Regions from separate parts of the Homo sapiens genome. Here region 2 is linked to region 1. Evidence: promoter capture Hi-C in human tissues and cell types (Jung and others, 2019). All regions are on one chromosome and are shown on one strand. Each heading gives the region's core, a stretch centred on a gene start or on the middle of the fragment in contact. The rest is flanking DNA. Distances are from core to core; before and after follow the strand shown. Region 1 overlaps DDX6 (DEAD-box helicase 6). Region 2 holds the start of KMT2A (lysine methyltransferase 2A).

Evidence for each region. The method cuts DNA at HindIII sites, captures the fragments that hold promoters and counts their contacts. A contact is called where the count stands out against the background at its distance.
Region 2: a contact is called between the fragment with the promoter of KMT2A here and a fragment that was not itself captured in region 1, in 1 of the 25 tissues and cell types used here (adrenal gland).

The regions. Positions count from the first base shown.
Region 1 is chr11:118,770,183-118,776,410 of GRCh38, forward strand. All of the region lies in intron 4 of DDX6 (DEAD-box helicase 6), which reads right to left. Among named protein-coding and RNA genes, the nearest start is that of DDX6, 18 kb to the right of the region's middle. The HindIII fragment of the contact is 5,946 bases long and covers 357-6,228 here.
Region 2 is chr11:118,433,798-118,440,025 of GRCh38, forward strand. KMT2A (lysine methyltransferase 2A) reads left to right here and starts at 2,695. Exons shown (of 36, transcript NM_001197104.2): 1 at 2,695-3,147. The coding sequence starts at 2,716. RefSeq lists enhancers at 1,667-2,664, 1,864-2,003, 2,665-3,663, 3,664-4,661 and a silencer at 2,314-2,793. The HindIII fragment of the contact is 10,858 bases long and covers 1-6,228 here.

The DNA of each region.
Region 1 (6,228 bases), core at 2,080-4,579:
ACCCAGCTAATTCTTGTATTTTTAGTAGAGACGGGGTGTTTCACCATGTTGGCCAGGCTGGTCTTGAACTCATGACCTCAGATGATCCACCGACCTCGGCCTCCCAAAGTGTTGGGATTACAGGCATGAGCCACTGTGTCTGGCCTGAATTTTTAATTTCTAAAACTAAGATACTAGGAACCAAATTCACAGTCACTGACATTTGTCCCTTCTATGCCTGGGCTAACGACAAAAACAAACAAACAAACAAAAAACAGCTTTAGCCCTTTAAAGCTGCTATTGGTAGAAATGACTAAATAAGCAGGATGACTTCCATCTCCCACGACAACACTCTTTCTACCTAGAGCTCCAATCACAGGATATAAATGGGTTCCATATGGTCAGAACAACACAGCTGCCAGAACAACTGTGAAAATATTGTTGTTGGCTGGGAACGATGGCTCATGTCTGTAATCCCAGCACTTTGGGAGGCTGAGGTAGGCAGATCACCTGAGGTCAGGAGTTCGAGACCAGCCTGGCCAACATGGTGAAACCCCATCTCTGTTAAAAATACAAAAATGGTCATGGTGCGCACCTGTAGTCCCAGCTACTTGGGAGCCTGAGGTAGGAGAACTGCTTGAGCCCAGGAGGAGGAGGTTGCAGTGGGCCAAGATTGCGCCACTGCACTCCAGCCTGGGCAATGGAGCAAGACTCAGTCTCACAAAAAAAAAAAAAAAGAGAGAGAAAAGAAAAGAAAATACTGTTGTCTTGTTCTTACAGCCAGCATTAAAGACTCTGCTTATTAAGGTAAAGCAAACAAAGAAGAAAACCTTGGCTTTAACCCTTTGGTCTTAAATTTCTTCCCTCATCACAGATAAGTGAACCATTATTTCCAGTTGTTCCAGAGGCTCCCATTACCCTGTCACCTCAGGTTTTCTCTTTTGTGGTTCTGTGGTGCCAGTAGTCTGTAGTTTTTAACAGGCTGCCTGCACACTACTCAGTTTTACAGTATTGAAAAAGTAAGATAGGTGGTCTCTGATGGTCTCATAACGACTTGCTGGGTCAGGTTCTTTAAAGTGTAAACCTTTTTTTCAATCAAGTGAGGCAGAACAGAATTAGACTAGAGGTATCCTAATCCCCCTTTTCAGTTCATCTTTTGACTGACTTGATTAAGGCCATTGACTTCTATTCCTTTGCCCTCTTTGACAGGGATTATACCCTACAAAAACTGTTCAAGGATAAAGCTTTAACAAAGTACATGTGATAGACTGTAAGTTAAGACACCCTGATATTTTGCCTTATATGATGGCCATTATGATTAACAGTCAGTGAATTCAGCACATCCACACTGCCTCTTACCAGTGTTTCTCAGGAAATAATGAAAAGCAAGAGAATTCAAGTCAAGTTCAAAAAGCTGTGAAATACAAGAGGAAATTATGAGGAACTGCCAGGGAGAAGGCAAAGGAGGAAGGAAACGAAAACTTTTTTTAAAACTTACTATGTGCTCAGCACAACTTTCAAGTTAGGTACTTTGTTTTACAACTGACAAAATGGATCCTAAACAGGATTAGTTTGCCCAAGGTCACAAAGCAAGAAATGCTTTAGCCAGTATTTGAACTTAGATCTGCACATAACATGTAGGCAAGAAGTTGGAGAAAATGGAACTCTCATACACTGCTAGTGGGAATGTACAGCTACGCTGGAAACCAGCCTTGCAGTTCCTCAAAAGGTTAAAAAGAGTTACCATATGAACTAGCAATTCTAGGTATACAGCGAAGAGAAATAAAAACATCTCCACACAAAAACCTGCACCTGAATTTTCATAGCAGCATTATCCTTAATAGCCAGTTCCTTCTATGTTTTTTTTTATAATAGTACAAACTTTATTCATAAATAAAACTTCATAAGGTTAAAGCAGGGTCAGTTCCTATTTTAAAAAGGGAACAGGGGAAGGCAGCCTGCTATTTTATTTAAAATCACAAGTTAGGTTTTTCAGACGGATGACAGTTGAGATCATTAAATCCCCTTCCTACTTCTCAGATTTTCACAAAATAGCACATTAAATCCTCAGTCCTTGGAAAACAACCCCAAATGTCTACCAACTGATGACTGGATAAATCAGAAGTAATAGAGCCATACAATAAAATATTATTCAGGAAAAAGGAATGGAATATTGATACAAGCTACAACACAGATGAACTCGGAAAACATTACGCTAAGTCAAAGAAGCCAGTCACAAAAAAAACACATACTATAGGATTCTATTTATATGACATGTCCAGACTAGGCAAAGCTAGAATGACAGAAAGTATACCAGTGGTTGTTTAGGGGTGTGGGAAAATGAGGTGTGACTGCTAAAAGGGTTTCTTTTGTGGGACTGATCAAAATGTTCTAAAATTTATTGTGGTAATGGTTGCAGAACTCTAAATGCACTAAAAAGCATTAAATTGTATACTTTTGATGTGTGATGTCATTTATATCTCAATAAAGCTATTACCCCCAAAAAACAAAACCCCAAAAAACCAACCCCACAAGCTTAGGGCTGACATCTGCCACCTTAGGTCTCCAAATTCACATTCACTGTAACGTTTAGATAATGACTGAAGAGTATTTGTTGTGTTTTGGTTACTCTAGTATCCCTTTACTAAGTAACACCCCAATTTCCTTCTAAGGAATTACATATGCCCTGGTCTCCCCTGTCCCAACAGACCAAGCCTCACCAATTTTCTAAGCCAAGTGGTAGACACATAGCCCACACTGGGCCAGCGGAATGTTGCCTCCTAAGAATCTAAATTGTTATAGTGCATCCATTACAGCTTCCTAAGTCCTTCAGAGCTATCTCAATTCTTAGTCATTTCCAAGTATGTTTCTCTAGCCTTCTCAATCTTGTGAATTCCCGTTATTTTTCCAATAAATTTCCTTTTGCTTAAGTTAGATCGAGTTGGTTTCTGATGCCTATAATTAAAGAATGGTTTATTTTCCAATCTCCTAGCATTGAGAGGCATTTTACAAAAGTGTGGTACCAACAAAAGCTCAACATCACCCAACTAGCTGCATTTACACTGACTGCTTCCTCTTATTTTCCAAACCTTAATTTCCAAGAGGGAAAAAAAACCTATGGTTAAAGGCCGGGCGCGGTGGCTCACGCCTGTAATCCCAACACTTTGGGAGGCCGAGGTGGGCAGACCATGAGGTCAGGAGATGGAGACCATCCTGGCTAACATGGTGAAACCCCGTCTCTACTAAAAAAATACAAAAAAATTAGCCGGGCGTGGTGGCAGGCGCCTGCAGTCCCAGCCACTTGGGAGGCTGAGGTAGGGGAATGGCGTGAACCCAGGAGGCAGAACTTGCAGTGAGCCAAGATTGCACCACTGCACTCCAGCCTGGGCGACAGAGCGAGACTCTGTCTCAAAACAAAATAAAACAAAACAAAAAAACAACCTATGGTTACTCCAGACGAGGTAGCAATGATTGTTACAAATGTCCCCTGCTTAACAGGAAAAAAAAAAAGGGAGATGGTAATTTCTAATTATATCTCTAATTTAGGCTGGGGATGGTGGCTCACACCTGTAATCTCAACCCTCTGCAAGGCTGAGGCAGGAGAACTGCTTGAGGCCAGGAGTTCAAGACCAGCCAGTGTGACAAACTGAGACTCTGTCTCCCCGACCCCACCCAAAAAGAAAACAAAACAAAACACACACCAAAAAAAAAAACAAAACAAACAAACAAAAAAAACCTTTGAGTTTTTAGGAAATATTTTTTTCAATCATGATAAACCGATTGTTAGCAGGAAGAATGACTTATTTACAGGATTCAGAATGCTATAATTCCTAACTATAAATAGTAAACTATTAATCCTCATTAGACCTTAGCTGACCTGGCACAAAATTTTGTTGCCAACAGTACGGAGCTTCCATGTTTCCCTCAATAATCAACTACTTCTCATTTCTTCACCTTCTTAGAGTTTCGAAAAAGTCTTCAAGAGGTGTTCCCAGGGTTTAGAAGCAACGAGAGAGGCCATCTTTCTCAATCATAACCCCAAAGTTAATATAAAGTTTCAAATAATGCTAAGCAGACAAAAACAGTATATTCTTAAGCCTTCCAAAGAAGTCTAGGTTCCTATAAAGCTATACCTTTAGAATGGCAATTATTCTACTGGCCACAGCATCCAGACCTAGAACTGGTCACAGATGGCTCTAGAAATACGTTGTGGGAGCAATCTGTAGTATATCTGGTTCCAGCCTGTCAATGTAAAAGCTCTTTTGAGAGCATATAATTTTAAGTGCCTAATTCTCTAACAGTCTTTTTTTTTTTTTTTTTTTTGTGAGACAGGGTCTTGCTCTGTTGCCCAGGATGGAGTGCAGTGACACAATCCTGGCTCACTTACAGCCTCAACCTCCTGAACATCTAAGACTACATGTCCCCCATGCCCAGCTAATTTTTGTACAGTCAGGGTTTTGTCATGTTGTTTAGGCTGGTTTTGAACCCCTGGACTCAAGCAATCCACCCACCTTGGCTTCCCAAAGTGCTGGGATTATAGGCATGAGCCACTGCACCCAGCCAATTCTCCAAATCTCACAGCCAAACTGCAACTAAATTCCATCTCAAACAAATATTCAAATGCAGAAGACTCACCCATCTAATCAAGGCAGTTTTAATATTTAGGGGAAAAAAAATGCCTGGATAAAACTGTAAAACCAAGCATGATAGAAGAGATACTTTTAGGAATGGGGGAGGGATGACAAAAATAAAACGAGAAGGTAGATAAGAATGGAAAGAATACTAGAAGACAGCCTGCCATGAGGTTATATTTTACCAGGGGGGTGATGGGTGCACCCAAATCTCAGAAATAGCAACTAAATAATTTACTTGGCCAGGCGTGGTGGCTCACGCCTGTAATTCCAGTACTTTGGGAGGCCGAGGAGAGTGGATCGCCTGAGGTCAGGAGTTCAAGACCAACCTGGACAACATGGTGAAACCCCGTCTCCACCAGAAATACAAAAATCAGCCGGGTATGCTGGTGCCCGCCTGTAATCCCAAGTCACTTGGGAGGCCGAGGCACGAGAATCGCTTGAACCCGGGAGGCAGAGGTTGCAGTAAGCCGAGAGCACACCATTGCACTCCAGCCTGAGCGACAGAGCAAAACCCTGTCTCAAAAACAAAAGAATTTACTCATGTAACCAAACACCACCTGTTCCCCCAAAAAACCTATGAAAATAAAAATTTAAAAAATTTTTTTACTAGGGGATCTGTAAATTTTGTTTCGGTTCTAAAATCCTAATATTTGTGACTTGTAACTCTGATTGATTCTAAGAAACACATAATCTTGTGCTTTCCATGGATCCCCAGGACAAAACAATAGGAAAGAAAAAGGCAATAAAAAAAAAGAAAAAGGCAATACAAGTGGTGACCTTGAGTATCTAAAACAATATACTCATACAATACCTTGCTATTTCAAAATACTTTGGTTGTACACTACATTTGATCTTAACAATAAAAATCCTGTGAGGGAGAGTACTTATTTCTACTTTACAGAAAAAGCTGGATGTCAGATTGGTTAAGTGGCTGAAGAGTTAATTGCCTATATGCTATAACAACACTCAGAGTACAAGTAACAAAGTTAATTTTAAATTTTAATACAAGGTAAGAAATAGGAGTCAGCAAATATCCACTAAGAATGAGGACTGGGCTAAGTGCAGTGGTTCACATCTATAATTCTAGCACATTGGGAAGCCAAGGCAGGAGGACTGCTTGAGCCCAGGAGGTCAAGACCAGCCTGGTCAACATGGCAAAACCTTGACTCTACCAAAAACAAAAACAAAAACAAAAACAAAAAACAACCAGGTGTGCTGGTACTACACTATCATCCTTACTCAGGAGGCTGGGGCAGGAGTATCACGTGAGCCCAGGAGTTTGAGGCTGCAGTGAGCTAAGATTCTGACACTGCATCCAGCCCAGGCAACTTAGCAAGACTCAGTCTCTTTAAAACAAATTTAAAACAATTACGTCTCCTAAATTAACTAATTTCCTTTTTTGAAACTATTATATAAAATAACCCATAACATTTTTGAGCATTTATCACGTACTAGGCATTGTACTAAGCATGTGAATTATCTCACTTAATCTTTACAACAACCCTATGGTATTATACTATTACCTCAATTATATAGGTCAGGAGTCTAAGACTTATAGATCCCAAATAACCAATTTATGAAGGAGTAGAGCTGGGATTTAATCTGGGCAGTTCCC
Region 2 (6,228 bases), core at 1,445-3,944, 340 kb before region 1:
ATCCGCCTGCCTCGGCCTCCCAAAGTGCTGGGATTACAGGAGTCGTAATGTCTTTTTATGATCAGCAGGATGGTTAACGGATATTTGCTGTCAGACCCCAGTGAGTTTTAGCACTTCTACTTACTAGCTGTGTGACTTTAGACATTATTCTAAGCCTCAGTTTCCCCATATGTAAAATCAAACTTATAGAATTGGAGAGAATTGAGTGCACATAAAGCACTTAGGCTCACAGAAAGCACTGAAAAATGTTATTATTAATATTTTCGCCCTAAAATCTCCAACAATAAACCAAATTCTGACTTGCTCTGGCTCCTTTTGGACTAGTCTAGAGGCAAAGAGACAAACTATATGATTTCTCAAGGAGTTTTTCTGCTCAGAGGCTTGAGTCTGGGGACTCCACACAATATTCGAAGACATTCTTCCTTCTTTCTGCTGCCTTGCAACCTGCAGACCTCCCACCTGTGTTAAATGAAGAATGCTTGAAGTGAGGTTACTCAGAACCCACCCGGTTCATGTTTTCTCAAGGGTAGAAGGCGGGAAGAAATCTGTTGACACAGTTATATAAAGCCTGTCATTCAGTCCCCTGCCTATTACCTCTGCAGACCGTTATGCATATTAAAGAAGGGGGGGCGGCAAATACAAAAGAAAAATAAGAGAGACGAGAGAGAGAGAGAAAGAGAGAGAGAGAGAGAGAGAACGAACAAATCAGGATGCTTGAGGGAATCCACGTGGTCGCCAATCTGTAACTGATCAGAGCAGCTACACTGAAGCAAAAACCCCAGCGCCCAACGCTAAATATATTGCAATGGAGAAACCGTCCACAATGGGGTGTCTCTGTCCTTAGCAGAGCCTTGGGGCTGCCGTTTAAGACCCTCCTGCTACTCCCACCCTTTTAGCATCTAGTAAACCACGCGCTGTAACAACGGAATCTTGTTCTGTGTATTGCGTTGTGCGAGTGTGCGCTTTGCAAACCATCTGGGCCCCATCCTGCGCGGTTGGAACGAAGATCGATTCGGGACGAGTTGGGGGAGTTGAGGCTTGCCTGTGTCTCCTCCCTTTCATTGCTCCTCTCCAGCCCCCATCCCATCGTCCGCTCTGCACAAATGTTTCGCCAGTGGAGGGACGTAGGTTTTCAGCACCAGGAGGCTGTGGACCTTCTCTGGAGGCGTGAAGTGCACCCTCCGGAGGGCCAGAGCTGAGTGCAACCTGCTCACAACGACCCTCTCCCTCCTTCCCAAATTCGCCGCCCCAGGCTGTAATATTACATGCAGTGCGCTGTACCGGTGCGGGAGTCCAGGAAGGCTGCATGACCTTCCAGCGAACTCCCCCTCGGCTTGGGGGATGGAGGCTGCCCCGGGGCCTGCAGGCTGTGTATCGATCCCCCAGCCTCAGCCAACGCAAGTTCTCCCGACACAAACCCCTCCCTACCCTCTCGGCTTTCCCAGCCTTGCAGGCGTCTAACGCTATGCTCGAGGCGCCCTCCCCTCTTTCCCGCAATAAAGTAAACCCGGTGGATATTCATTCCCCTCCCTAACTCGCCTCCTTCTTTCCCCCTCCCCCCTCAGCTTACTAACCCCGCGCACAGAGCTCGCCGCCGGCGGGCCCCTTCCACCCAGTGTATCATAATGCCCAACGCTCTCCTCCTCCCCCTCTCTTAATCAGAAACGTGCTCGCGAGCCCCCCTCCCTCTGCGTGCATACATTAGGGTCTGCTTTGCATGCAGCGGCAGGCAGAGACCGGAGGAAGAAGGGGCGGGGGCGCTTTTGCCCGCCTCTTCCCTCCAGGCCCCGTTAGCCACCCAGCTTCAGCTTCGTTGTAACACCGCGTCGTTAGCGGAGCACGCCGTGGCCTCAGTGCCCGGGCTGGAGAAACACAACCCAACTCCCTGCAGAAGGGCACGAAAGCCAGACGAGTGCACAGTAGAGCGAGGAGGTGGCAGGAGACCTGCCACTCGGTGTGTGCTTTTTGGAAAGAGCTCCAGCATGAAAATGGGAGGGGCTCCTTTTTTATTTTTTAAAGTGCGTTCATTGAGGGCCTTTCTGTTTTGCATATAGTAAACTGGGCAGCGCTTCTGTTTTGCATGTAGTACAATAAGGGCTCTTTTATTCTAGAAGCGTTCAATTCGGGCTAACCCATCTTGTATCCGTGCCCTGGGGCGGAGGAGAAGGCTCACTGCTCCCCGACCCAGCCGCCGCGTTATACTGGAAGCTGCTCTCCCGGGCTGTTCGATTCCCAGCGCGTCCCGGGAACGTGTGTAATCGGCCTCTCGGCGCTCAAGGCTGCAGGCGGCCCGGCTCCCTACGCCTCCATCCTCCGCGTAGTCCTCGCCCCCTCCCCCTCTCTCCGGAACCCGCGCTCTGCTCCGGGCTCCCGGGCTTCCTTCCCCCCTCCTTTTCCCGAGCAATGCCTCTCCCGGAGGGCGGGGCATGCAGTTATCCAGGTTGCGGGGCCGGCGGGCGGGCAGGAGGCGGCGGCCCGGGCCTCGGGATGGAGTTGCAGCGCCCAGGCGTCAGAGGCGGAGGCCCGAGGCCGCTATACAGATTGCGGGGCTGGCGGGCGCGGCCCGGCGCTCTGCATAGCGGCCGGCAGGGTGCAGGCGGCCGGGCGGCGCAGAGCTGGTTAGGCAGGTTCCGGGGCCCCGTGCCCCCCCCTCCGCCTCCCCGCCCCCCTGTGTTGTCGCCTCTCCCTCTCGCTGCTTCACTTCACGGGGCGAACATGGCGCACAGCTGTCGGTGGCGCTTCCCCGCCCGACCCGGGACCACCGGGGGCGGCGGCGGCGGGGGGCGCCGGGGCCTAGGGGGCGCCCCGCGGCAACGCGTCCCGGCCCTGCTGCTTCCCCCCGGGCCCCCGGTCGGCGGTGGCGGCCCCGGGGCGCCCCCCTCCCCCCCGGCTGTGGCGGCCGCGGCGGCGGCGGCGGGAAGCAGCGGGGCTGGGGTTCCAGGGGGAGCGGCCGCCGCCTCAGCAGCCTCCTCGTCGTCCGCCTCGTCTTCGTCTTCGTCATCGTCCTCAGCCTCTTCAGGGCCGGCCCTGCTCCGGGTGGGCCCGGGCTTCGACGCGGCGCTGCAGGTCTCGGCCGCCATCGGCACCAACCTGCGCCGGTTCCGGGCCGTGTTTGGGGAGAGCGGCGGGGGAGGCGGCAGCGGAGAGGTAAGGGGGCGAGGAACCCCCAGGTCCGGGGTCTCGACCCTCTGCGGAGCCCCCTCCCCTCCCCCATCCGGGATTGAGGAGCATCCCAATTCTGGGACCATCTCGGGGTCCCTGACCCGGGGCGAATGGCTCTCCCATCTTGGGACCCCCATGCAGGGCTGCAGACCCCCAGGCGCCCCCACCCCGGGGTTTGGGCCCATCTGGCTGAGGGCGTTTGCCCCCCGCTCTCCTCCCCCTGACCCTTCCCCAAATCCCTTGGCACAGACCCCCTCGCCGGGGTTTCCCATCCCGGGACTGAACCCCTCCTCCCTTTCACAGATTACCTCATCCGAGCAAGATTCCTCCCTCCCTCCCTCCTAGAGACCTGATCCCGCCACATCCCCGCCTCCCTCTCTGGGCAGATGTGTTACTCCTAGGGCAGTTTTCCTCTCGGGCGTCTCTCGGGTGATGGCCTCATCCAGGGCCACGTTCTCCTGGCCCTTGGGGATCGTGTCCCTTCCAGCACCTTGCTTTCGAAAACCCGATGAACCCTCGCGCCATCCCCGGGCCAGGTCCCTATACTGCCAGCCACTCCCCCTTCCTTCACCTCCACCCTCTACCCCCACCCCAAGCAGACCGATCCTCCCCCATCCCGCCCTACCCCACCGGGGAAAATCTCTCCTCTGCACCTTGCCTGGTCTCACCTCCTTTCCCTCTGAAGATAACGGTGATTCCTCATACAGCAGTCTCTTCCCCCCCCCGCCCCGTCTTACAGGGCTACAGTTTCTAGCCTATTGGTAGCCGGGAATTACTCTACCTTCACTCCACCCTTTCCCTCCTTTAGAATGAAGGATTAGTGGCATCTTGGAGGGGAAAATAGTCCACTGTCCCCTAGGCTTAGAGAAGAGCAGCTTTCCACCACTCCCCTTGGAGAGGAGGCAGGCTTTCCCTCCAGCTCTGGGGAAGGGGGCCCCTGTGAGGGGAGGTGTTTGTTGGGGGACTGAGGCAGCATCCTCCCAGGGGAAGCAGCTGCTCTCCTACCCCACCCACTGCGCCTGAGAGCACGCAGTCTCCAACCCGAGCTCCCTCCCGCCCTTCTCTTCTCGTCATTTCATTATTGATCCACCTTTTCCTAGGCCAATCCTGGGGCTTGGAAGGGGTGGGGGAAGCCAGGTTGGGGTGAGGAGAGTAGATAAGGGACAGTTATACTTTAGTGTGGTGGCGGTGGTTGCTTTGGGATGGGAGAAAAAGGATTATCAAGCAAAGTTATTCCTTAGAAAGGACTTGGGGTTGTCTCTGATTCTTGTAAGGGGACCCAAGGTGGATGAAGGGTCAGAGCGTTGCCCCTTCCCCATTAGTACTGGGGCAAGAACGGAGTTGCTTCTATAAACATTATTCGGCCCCCTTCAGCAAAAAGGAAAGTTGCCCAAGGAAGGGAAGTTGAGTTCAGGTTCAGCCAGTGGCGTTGCGCATTTGTTTTCCATTGGATGCAGAAGGGGGGAGTTCGAATTGTAGAGGGGGGAGGATGGCATGGGGGATGCTAGGAGGAGGAAGAGCAGCTGCTAGGGGCTGAAGCGAAGGGGGGTAGGGGGTTGCTGCTCTGGAGTGCTCTTGATTGAAACAGAAAGGGAAAGATAACAACCAGCCGTTTCCTGCGTGCTCTGCCGTTGGTGCACACAAAATATCCTGGGCAAACCCCTTGTCCCCTATTGTGCCCCGCACCCCTTTAGATTTACGGAAAGATCCTGGGAAGAAGGGGAGGGAGGAGATCCCAAGGACCCTGGCCCCTCCTTTCAAGGAGCTGGCATTTTTTAGTTGTTAGTCTTCCTGCCTCCTTTTTTTTAATCGTTTCTAAGGCAGCCTGATCAGGAGACTGACAACAACCCGCCTTCTGACAGAGCAAGGAGGACATGATGGGGGCGTGTTCCTTGCTATGTAGCTAGCTGCAGCGTCCCCTTTCCCTGCCTCTTTCTGCTCTATCTCCACCTCCTTTTCCCAGCCTTCAGAAGGCAGCTGCAGTCAGCAGGGTTGTTTGAGACTATTTATTGGTTGCTGTAGATTATTATTTTTTTTTGAAAGGCCAATTCTGTATTTTTTAAGCTAACAACACAGATCCCATGTAGTTGGAGAACCAAAGGCCACATACATGACAAAAAGACTGAACCGTTCAGGTTACTTGCATGGAGTTGGTGCTTAAATGTGAGTTGATTTTGCTTTTTTAAAAGATACAGCAGCAAAAAAAAAAAAAAAGAAAAAAAAGAAAAAACTGACATTTCATTTACCTGCTTATTTTCAAAATTGAGACTTGCCTGGTTATATGTAGCATTTTAGCCCCATGTATATTTGAGTTTAATAAGAAAGTCTCTATTAGGAGAAGTTAGTCCATTTTAAGGGGATCCTAAGAAGCATTTTCTTCTTGTTCAGTATGCTTATTTATTTTGTATAGAAGGACTAAGCATTCACATTCCAAATATTATCACATATTCAAAAGCAAAGTTTTATGCTGACAGCTTCCAATCATAGTTTTTCAAGAGACTGGTTAGAAAGAGAGCCACCTGGATTCAGGGACCTAATGTCTGGGCACCAGAATATTTTATCTGTTGGTCTTTGACAAATCACTTTTAAAGTTTTAATCAGGGGCTAAACGTTTTCTTATCTACTGGCATTATGAGATAATTGTAAACTACTGTTTTATTTTTCTTAACACTAGTATATAATGTAAAGCCTGTCAAGGAATTGCAGTTATTTCAAATAGGATCATATTTATAAGGGGTTTTTGTCTTTAAAACTTTTTCCTGAACAGTAGTTGCTGCTTCATTATGAGAAGAGTGGTTGACTCCTTACATTAAACTTGAGTATTTTTTCTGAATTGGACTTGAATGAGCTCTGTTCCATGGGTAAGCTTTTTATGTGGTGTTTGAGGCAATCCAGTATGAGTTGATGGTATGCATTGAGTAGTGGTAAACCTCTGAGCTGGTAGTTTTCAGTGTAGAAGCAAGCACTTTTTTTTTTTTTTTAACATAGCCTTACTAATCAATGATAAAGTTCCAAAAGGGAAGTTTAGGGTTCACCCTGGGCTGACATAGAATTCTAAAGACTGCT